Linked DNA regions of Homo sapiens: region 2 is linked to region 1. Evidence: promoter capture Hi-C in 16 types of primary human blood cells and fetal thymus (Javierre and others, 2016). All regions are on one chromosome and are shown on one strand. The core of a region is centred on a gene start or on the middle of the fragment in contact, and the rest is flanking DNA. Distances in the headings are between cores, read along the strand shown. Region 1 holds the start of WDR44 (WD repeat domain 44). Region 2 overlaps LOC124905207 (a long non-coding RNA gene).

Region 1 (4,908 bases), core at 2,007-4,506:
TGTGGGAAGATAACTTGAGCTTAGGAGTTTGATGCTGCAGTGAGCCATGATCTCACCACCTCTCCAGCCTGGGCAACAGAGTGAGACCCTATCTTGGAAAAAAAAAAAAAGAAAAGAAAAAAGAAAATAAAGAAAACCTGACCTAAAATATCAATAAAAAAGCATTATAAATACGGCATATATTGCAAAGCTGGGCAAGTGAAGATCATCTGCCACTGTAGAAAAGTAGGCTGTACTGGAATTAAAAGTCTCTAAAAAAACTGGGCTGATTTTTAACTTATTAAATTTGCTTTCAAAGAGTAGATTAACAAAGCCGAAGACATCATTGGAAGGAAAATGCAAGAAATAAATTAATTTTAGGAAATAGCTTGTGTATTAGGATTGTGCTAATTAACAAAACATGAGATAAGTCTCCACTGCCTATTCAGTTTACTACAATTTGTTGACATAGTCTGTGTACTCCCAAACACACAACAGCAAGGAACATTTCTGAAGTGCCCAAATTCAGTCTATTAACCTTAGAAATTGTATAGTTTGCCACTCCAGATCATATGAAGGAACAGAACATATTTCTGATGACCAATATCTAGTAAGGCAATCTGTTTCCACAAATCAAGATTTCTCACTACATTTCTAGGTTATAAGTTGCCCACCCAGATCTCCTCACGGTGTCTTATGCAAATGATACAACCTTCCACAAAGGATAGAGGAAAATGTAAATGATGCTAACCTTTTTCTGCCCTCAGTGCTGCCAGTTCTTTTCAGATGCAATTCTCCAGATTAGTCTATTGTCTTTCCAATCCTCTAATACAGAAAGGAGCCCTGAAATCCACAAACTGACCCTGTAGTTTTATCCATAGAACTCAACACACTTAGTAATTGGGCAGGTTAAAGTTAAAATTAGAAAGCTGAGTTCCAAAAAAACCTTTTTCAGTTTTCACCTAATATCAGAGGATCAAAGTGCTTGAGAAGCTGTATTATCTCATGAGGGAAGAAGTGACTCTATCAATTCTATCAAAATGACTCATCCGGTTTAGATAAGTAAAATAGGTCCAAGTTCTATATATCTCCCAAAATAAGCTTTGTGTAAAGTTAACAAATTTGCCAATGCCAAGAAAGGAAGGAGAAAAGCATGAACATTTTGAATGCTTTCTCTGTGCCCAGGTACTGGACTAGACAGTTTACACAGGTCCTGATATAACTTGCGTCCTTTGAAATTAAACTTATTCAGTGGAAAGAACAATATCCACAGAGTAGTTCTAAACTGATCAGCTCATAAACTGATGATTTCCCTCCCCCACCCCAATACACACACACAAAAGTACCAAAGGACTTGGTGTCTCATTCAATCTGAATTGTCAGTTCATTACTTTGAAGGGAAAACCACACACACAAAAATTAAGTTTCACGGAAGTCCAATACATTTCAAAACCCAAATGTATTTCCTATGCTCTACACCTAGCTCTAAACTTGTCTCAGATATTGAACTTGAAGGAGATTCGGTGTCATCTCAAGATTGGCCACTGCCACCCCAAAATCCCACAACAGTGACATGAAGGTTGGTGGAAAGACAAACATCTGAAATCTACCAACGTACATTGCTTTCTGATTTTATTACTGTAACTTTTTGGTGCATATTGTGTATAAACATACATTAGTTTTTAGAATGACTTCTAGCATGCATGGCTAACTATACTTGCATCACAGCGGGTTATTACTCCCACGGAGTAAGTGTGAGAATTGAAGGCAGTGAACTTCTCGAACCATATTAGTCCTTTATACTAACATCTACATTTTACCAATCCTCAAGTTCTTACAGCATGAAAATATATTTCACTGCCTCTATTTCCACGTACATTCGTAGGGGAGTTCGGCGAAATCGCTTTAAAGCACTACCCCAACTTTGAAAAGTGGAGAAGTGGGTAAGTAAATACAAGTCCTAGTCAAGCGAGCATTCCAACTACTGTACTTCCTATTCAGAATCACCCATATTAATCACCACTAAAACATCTTGCAGAATTAGATAAAGAACACAAAGCTGGGGCTCTCCTTCCAATCACCAGATTACTCAGCACTTGTTTGTCCCTCTGCAGTCAGTTGTGCACATTTCTTCTGTCTGGCCATCCTTTTAGACCGCATTCTGCCTAATAGGGACCGTGTATTCGATTTCCTTTACCTCACGATAAGGTGTTATTTTAATAAAACACTGTTGATCTAGAGTACATTCGCTAGAGGACTTTCTTAAGCAAATACCCAACCTTCCCCCCGCTCCTTTTCGCTGTGTGCAAGAAAAAGAGGACGGCAAATAGGGGAGAGTTACAGCCACCTCTGAAGTGAATAGGTAAGTTAGCGGTAAACGGGAGAATAAAAAACTACAAGTTACATTTCTCCTGTTACTGCTCCTTTAATCTACGGTCCCCGAGGCCAAAACGGATGTTTGAAAGGTAAGCTCAGAACCCCACAGATACAAATCTCCGACTCAGGCACGTAAGCTGTTCCCCCTCACAGAAGGCTGGATCAGAAGAGAAACGGGCTCCGAGACCGACCCTGGGACCGTTCAGTAGGGAAACGGCCGGGAGGCTGCCCGAGGTGGCTGACTCCCCCTTCTCCGAGTCACCCCGCCCTAAGAAGCCCCAGGTCTGGGTTCTGAAGTCCTCCAGTGAGACGGGGAGGAACAGCGGTGGCGGACACAGCGGGACCTGGGAGGGGTGTAGGGGGAAGACACAGGAGATGCGGGGGGCTTGGGATGCCCGGCTTCCTGTCATAGCTGCAGTCACTTACCCCACGGGGTAGCCGCCCCCTAGGTGCACATCTTCAGGGGCATCATAGAATTCCTCGGTGTCGCTTTCCGACGCCATTTATAGGACACACCCGCGGGTGAGGGGGCCGGCGCCGCCTGGAGGAAGGGTGACTCTTGTCTCCTCCTCGTCGACCTCCACCCGGGCGAGACTGGGGAAGTGGGTCTCGGGCGAGGCTGAGGGAGCAGACGATCTGTAGCGAGGAGACTGTTAAGGAAAGGGGGCCGCCCTCAGTTGCCGGGCTTCGGGAATGACCGGCAAAGCGGCCGCCTGAAGAGGCGGCGGTTGGTCCAGGGAATGTTGCTGCCACCGCTCCCAGTGATAGGTGTATAAGGAGCGCGAAAGAGGCGGTGGCTCCTCGCAGTAAGGGAAGAAGGGCGCGCCGGCTACAGCGGCTCCAGTTTCTCCCGCAGCAGCAATTTACAGCAGCTGGAAGAGCTAGTTGCCCGCAAAATACCGACGCGCACCTACCCTCGCGAGATTTCGGAGGGGCGGTAATACGTGGGCGGGGCGAAGAGGTGGCGGGGGCGGTTCCAGAGAGGCAGCGCTCCGATTACTTCGGCCCGAGAAGCCTATCAAAACGGCGCAAGCGCGTTGAGGGCGTTCGGTGAGGGCCGGAAGTAGCCGAGAAGGGAGGGGGTGAGCCTCCCGAAGGGAGGAGTCTAGGACCTGCGCAGGAGCAGCGTGGTGCCCTGGCTCTGAGAGCGCGCGGCCGACGTAGGTGGGGTCAGGCAGAAAGTCTTACTCCCTAACTCTGCAGTTCCAAAGAGACGCGTTTTGAGAGGGGTGATTTTGAGTCGGTCTTTTACTTGTAAAGAAATACTCTCGGGAAACGTTGGTGTGGACATTTTGGCGTATATTTACGATGTCTTACTATCCAAGCCCGGAATGTCCCACCCTAGGGCGTCGGCAGGTCCACCACCTCTGGCGTTACGAGAATAACTCGCCCTTATTCACTACGAGATCTCTAATTGAGATCCCTAGATATGATCCTGCCGGCCAGAGGGTGGGGTCCTTGAGATATACACGGGGAGTGTGCCAGTTCCATGGTGTAATGATGGATTTATTGCTGGAGCTGAGCCAGTATTAGGCCTCCGGTTACTTTTTCTCCGCACATGTCTGTCGCTGCCAACACAGTGTGAGAGAAGTTCTTACATACTGCCCAAGATGTGCGTCAGCTAAATGGTAAATATTTATTGAGCAGATATCATTGCAAGCCTACGAGCTAATGGCTTAATTCTGATCCTCAACTGCCCAGCGTCCGGTGATAAAAATAGAAAGGTACTTTTTAAAAAACCGAGATGTTCCTTCTTAAACCACGGGTCATTGACCATCAAGGTGATAACATTGACTTTCAGTATGATCACACAGCATATTTATTTCTCCAACTGACATCATGATAGGCATTTTGAGCTGTTCGTGCAGCCTCAATTAGTATTCAAGAAAAGGCTGGATTGGAGCCAGGGGTATGGTCTCAGAGAAACTGGAAAGGGGCTCTAGACTTTGTCAAGCAATCAGGGCAAGGTCTGCTGTGGTCTAGTGGACTTGGGTAAAAACCAAATGTCATATACTGTATATTCTATAATACCCCAGGGAGTTTAGGGAAAACACTGCGTAATCAAATATATTAATATTTTTGCAGCAAGATATATGATTGTTCATACGGGATAAATAAATACAAGTAAATAGCCTCATTCAGTTTGAGTCAGACGCTTCTGCCAAATAAGTTTAAGATAGATCTATTTGACTGTCAAATAAATTACTAAAAAAAAAAAAAAACAGAAACTTGGTTTCCAGAGCTTTTGAAGTTTCAGAATTGGAGACAAGGGATTTGTGGATCCTTGTGAGGGTATGACTTTTGTCAAACCTAAAAATTATTAGGTTTTATGTGTCTTAAACATGTTAATTAACTTCCTAGGTATAAAAATGTAACTCAAAGTACTAACTTTTAAAAACGTTTTGCTCACTAAGATAGGTTTTTTTGTTTTCTTTTTGGATTATGGAAAGATACCAGATATAAGGTAGGGAAATATATATTTATGGAAAGATGTTAACTACCTGAATGTATTCTCTTCCTAGATATCTAATAGTGAATTTATGGCTTCCAAAG
Region 2 (4,937 bases), core at 2,438-4,937, 360 kb before region 1:
GACAGTGAGATGCAGAAGAGGAAACAAGGTTTGAGGAAAGGGGAGATGATATTAAATAGCTATTTGTGATGTTGTTATATTTTACATTTCTAGGTGTTTGTTGTGGAAAGGGTTTTTGTGTTATTCATTGAGCAAGTTTTGCTGTCATAGCTCACTTTTGTAATGAAGAGAAAGGTAATTTTATTTTATTATTATTATTTCTTTGAGACGGAGTCTACCTCTGTCACCCAGGCTGGAGTGCAGTGGTGCGATCTTGGCTCACTGCAGCCTCGACCTCCTATGCTCAGGTGATCCTCCCACCTCAGCCTCCCGAGTAACTGGGACTACAGGTATGTGCCACCACACCCAGCTAATTTTTTTTGCATTTTTGTAGAGATGGGATTTCACCATGGCTGGTCTTGAACTCCTGACCTCAAGTGATCCGCCTGCCTTGGCCTCCGAAAGTGCTGGGGTTACAGGTGTGAGCCACTGCACCCGGCCAGTAATTTTAAATTGAAAGATAAGTAGATAACAATCATCCTGTCGAAAATCAGGCAGAAGATGTTTTATTAAGACATTGACTGGCTGGGCATGGTGGCTCATGCCCATAAATCCCAGCACTTTGGGAGGCCGAGGTGGGAGGATCACCTGAGCCCAGGAGTTCGAGAACAGTTCTGGGCAACATGGCAAGACTCTCATCCCCACAAAAACATTTAAAAAGTAGAACAATAAGTAAATAAAAGAAACTGATTAGACACCATAGAAAAAGGAAACAATCACAAATTTGAAATGTTCCTTTTTTTTTTTTTTGAGACAGAATCTCACTCTGTCACCCAGGCTGGAGTGCAGTAGTGTAATCTCAGCTCACTGGAACCTCTGCCTCCTGGGTTCAAGCAATTCTCCTGTCTCAGCCTCCCGAGTAGCTGGGATTACAGGCACCCGCCACCACGCCCAGCTAATTTTTATGTATTTTAGTAGAGACGGAGTTTCATCAGGTTGGCCAGGCTGGTCTGGAACTCCTGACCTCAAGTGATCCACCTGCCTTGGACTCCCACAGTGCTGGGATTACAGGTGTGAGCCACAGTGCCCGGCCTGAAATGTTTCTTATATTCCAGTAATTGAATAAAATAGGAACTAGATTGGATTTCCTCTTTTTCCCCTTTACACAGAAGGAATGACATCAAAGAGTGGTTTACCTAATGTCTCTTGCTCGCTGTCACCATGATGTGGTGACTGTCATCATGTAGGTGGCACTAGCTCCCTTGATATTTGCCCGCCGGTCATGTTTCCAGACAAGAATGCTATTGCTGTCCAATGCCTCATCAAAGGTATAGATGGGGCAGAGAACTAGAAATTGAGGAGCAAACACCTCAAATGTCCTTGGCAGATTAGCTGGGTCCTAGCCACATGCAGATGTGTGGTTCCAAGTGAAAGCAGATCTGAATATCCAGTGTGGAGACCACTGGAAAGAAGGGGCCAGACATAGTCCAGCCAGCCCCTGAGGTTAGAAACAGCCAGCATGCTCTCAAATGCTGTCTCCCACTCTCTGCTTTGTAGACCCTTTCACTGGAGGTAGCTGATAGAGCATCATATGCCCTCTCTTCCCAGGCCACAGCAGAAAATGGTGGCATGCATTAACATATTATTTATCCAGTGCCAGCTGAAGGAAGGGGCAAACTAATCTGTAACTTATGCTATACACTATAAGGAACTTAAAAAAACATGGGAAGGACATGTACTTCCATGTACGATAGTTGTAGAGGATCTTTCCTTGTAGTTTTCAATTTTGCTTAACTGTCTATGTCAGAAAGCAAAATGGGCCTGGCGCGGTGGCTCATGCCTGTAATCCCAGCACTTTGGGAGGCCAAGGTGGGCAGACCACTTGAGGTCAGGAGTTTGAGACCAGACTGGCCAACAGGGTAAAACCACGTCTCTACTAAAATACAAAAAAAAAAAAATAATAAATTAGCTGGGCTTGGTGCGTGCCTGCAATCCCAACCACTCTGGAGGCTGAGACAGGAGAATCGCTTGAACCCAGGAGGTGGAGAGGTTGCAGTGAGCCGAGGTTGTGCCACTGCACTCCAGCCTGGGTGACAGAGCGAGACTGTGTCTCAAAAATTAAAAAAAAAAAGCAAAATGGACAAGTACCTGAACTAAAATGATGTAAAGATGGATGAAGAGATTCAATAACCATTTAAAAAGTGAGATCTCCAGGCATGGTGGTGCACACCTGTAGTCCCAGCTATTCAGGAGGCTGAGGCAGGAGGATCACTTGAGACCAGGAGTTTGAGACCAGCCTGAGCAACATAGTAAGGCCCCCTTCTCAGATAAAAAAAAAAAAAAAAGAAAACAAAGTGAGATTGTTGGACTTGTCTGATCAGATGTGGGGAAGGGAGGAGAGTGAGGATTCTAGAGCAGCAAGCTCTTCATATACCAAATCTAGCCCACCTACTTTTGTACAACCTGTAAGCTAAGAGTGGTTTATTACATTTTTAAGTGGTTGGAAAAAACTCAAAAGAATATCTTGTAACATATGAAAATGACATGACATCCAAATTTTAGCACTCACACAATTTGACTGGAATATAGCCCTGCCCATTTCTTACATATTGTTCAGTAGCTGTTTTCATCCTGCAGCAGCAGTTGAGTAGCTGCAGCAGAGAGTGTATGGCTTGCAAAGCTTCACATATTTCTTCTTTTTTTTTTTTTCTGAGACGGAGTCTCACTCTGTCGCCAGCTTCACATATTTCTATAAATAGTCCTTTATAGGAAAAGCTTACTGACCACTAGTCTAGGTGACTTGTAAATTTCTGGCCAGTGTCACTGGATAGGAAGGGGTGTCCTCAACTGAGACGGAGAACAGAGGAGGAGGAGCAGGTTGAGAGGAAAGAGGAGCATGGTGATTGTGAGGTGCCTGTGGATCACCTAAGGAGAGAAGCTCAGCAAACAGCTGGGTGTCAGGCTCTCGAACTTGGAGAGAGGCCCCACTGTAAACTGAGTAGGTGAATTTCGCCATTCTTCCACTACTCCAGAAGTGAATTTCTAAATTTTCAGAGTCTCTTCCCATTAATTTGGTAAGGGGCTTAAAGCTCTAATTTTATCTTCAATCTCAGTAGTTGGTTTAGAAATAAAGTCTTACTGTCTTATAGAATCCTAAAGACATGGCACAGGGTGGATGAAGACTACAGGGCTTTTAAGAATTTGAGAAGCTGGAGTTATCTACAATTTAGTCTGCCATCTTACTAGGATGTAAGGGCTTATGGCTGTTCAAAAGCTGCAACTTTGCCTTTTCCTGTTTAAATTATAGCTTAGTGCTGCGGAAAAGGCATGAATGGATCTTCTGATTTTGGTGCTCTAGGTTGCACATAGGCAGAGGGAAGAAAACTGAAACCAAAAAGGCAGCTTTTTTTTTCTTTTTTTTTTGAGACGGAGTCTTGCTCTGCTGCCAGGCTGGAGTGCAGTGGCGTGGTCTTGGCTCACTGCAACCTCCGCCTCCTGGGTTCAAGCAATTCTCCTCCCTCAGCCTCCCAAGTAGCTGGGATTATAGGCACACACCACCATGCCTGGCTAATTTTTGCATTTTTAGTATAGATGGGGTTTCACCATGTTGGCCAGGCTGGTCTTGAACTCCTGACCTCGTGATCCACCCACCTCGGCCTCCCAAAGTGCTGGGATTACAGGCATGAGCCATGGTGCCTGGCCAAGGCAGCATTTTTATATTCCTGAATTCACATGGATTCCTTCTGAAAACAATTGTTGTTTGTAATATAAAAAATAATAAGGCCGGGCACGGTGGCTCATGCCTGTAATCCCAACACTTTGGGAGGCTGAGGCGGGCAGATCACTTGAGGTCAGGAGTTCAAGACCAGCCTAGCCAACATAGTGAAACCCTGTCTCTACTAAAAATACAAAACTTAGCCGGGAGTGGTGGCGGGTGCCTGTAATCCCAGCTACTCGGGAGGCTGAGGCAGTAGAATCGCTTGAACCCAGGAGGCGGAGGTTGCAGTGAGCCGAGATTATGCCATTGCACTCCAGCCTGGGCAACAGAGTGAGACTCCGTCTCAAAAATAATAATAATAATAATTATTATTATTATATTGGGGAGAGAGTTAGAAAATTACCTATCAGGTACAATGTTTACTATTTGGGTAATGGCTATACTAGAAGCCCACTCCCAGTACAGAATATACTCATGTAACAGACAAGCACATGTACCCCCTGAATCTAAGATACAATAGAAGCAATATCAGGCCAGGCGCAGTGGCTCATGCTTGTAATCCCAGCACTTTGGAGGCCGAGGCAGGCGGATCACTTGAGGACAGGAGTTTGAGACCAGCCTGGTCAACATGGCAAAGCCCTGTCTGTACTAAAAATACAAAAATTAGCTGGGCGTGGTGGCACACACCTGTAATCCCAGCTACTTGGGAGGCTGAGGCAGGAGAATCACTTGAACCTGGGAGGCAGAGGTTGTAGCGAGTGGAGATCACGCCACTGCACTCCAGTCTGGGTGACAGAGCGAGACTCCATTTCAAAAAAAAAAAAAGAAAAAAGAAACAACATCAATTCCTCTGGACACCATTTATTTGTGAAAAAAATAGTTTGAACACTTATCCCCAAATCATGTCATTTTAGGAAGCTTGATAACAGAGGTAGAGGTGGGGACTGCAAAGACCTGGGTGTGGGCCTGAAAAAGGAGGCTGGGTACCATGTAGCAATTGCCTTCAGGTGTTAGTGAGCTGAGTTTTTCCTCCTCCTTCCTCCCCTTTTTATTCTCTTAGATCTCTCTTCTTTTTCCCTTGATTCCTCTCAAAGTGGTGGCTTGAGTGTGAACTGTTACACCAGATTCTCTGGGTTCAAATTCCAGCATTGCCACCGATTGTGTGATCTCAAACAAGTTATCTAGCTTTGCTGTGCCTTAGTTTCCCCATTCATAAAATGAGGGATATGTGTCATTACCT

What was found. The method cuts DNA at HindIII sites, captures the fragments that hold promoters and counts their contacts. A CHiCAGO score of 5 or more calls a contact.
Region 2: a contact is called between a fragment that was not itself captured here and the fragment with the promoter of WDR44 in region 1, in 1 of 17 cell types (neutrophils). The highest score is 6.0, in neutrophils.

What each region holds. Positions count from the first base shown.
Region 1 is chrX:118,344,454-118,349,361 of GRCh38, reverse strand. It overlaps WDR44 (WD repeat domain 44), which reads right to left and starts at 3,256. Exons shown (of 20, transcript NM_019045.5): 1 at 2,782-3,256. The coding sequence starts at 2,858. RefSeq lists enhancers at 491-1,085, 2,581-3,124, 3,666-3,715, 3,906-4,025. The HindIII fragment of the contact is 5,332 bases long and covers 1,083-4,908 here.
Region 2 is chrX:118,703,124-118,708,060 of GRCh38, reverse strand. LOC124905207 (a long non-coding RNA gene) reads right to left here. Exons shown (of 2, transcript XR_007068306.1): 2 at 4,543-4,937. Among named protein-coding and RNA genes, the nearest start is that of IL13RA1, 22 kb to the left of the region's middle. The HindIII fragment of the contact is 1,861 bases long and covers 2,757-4,617 here.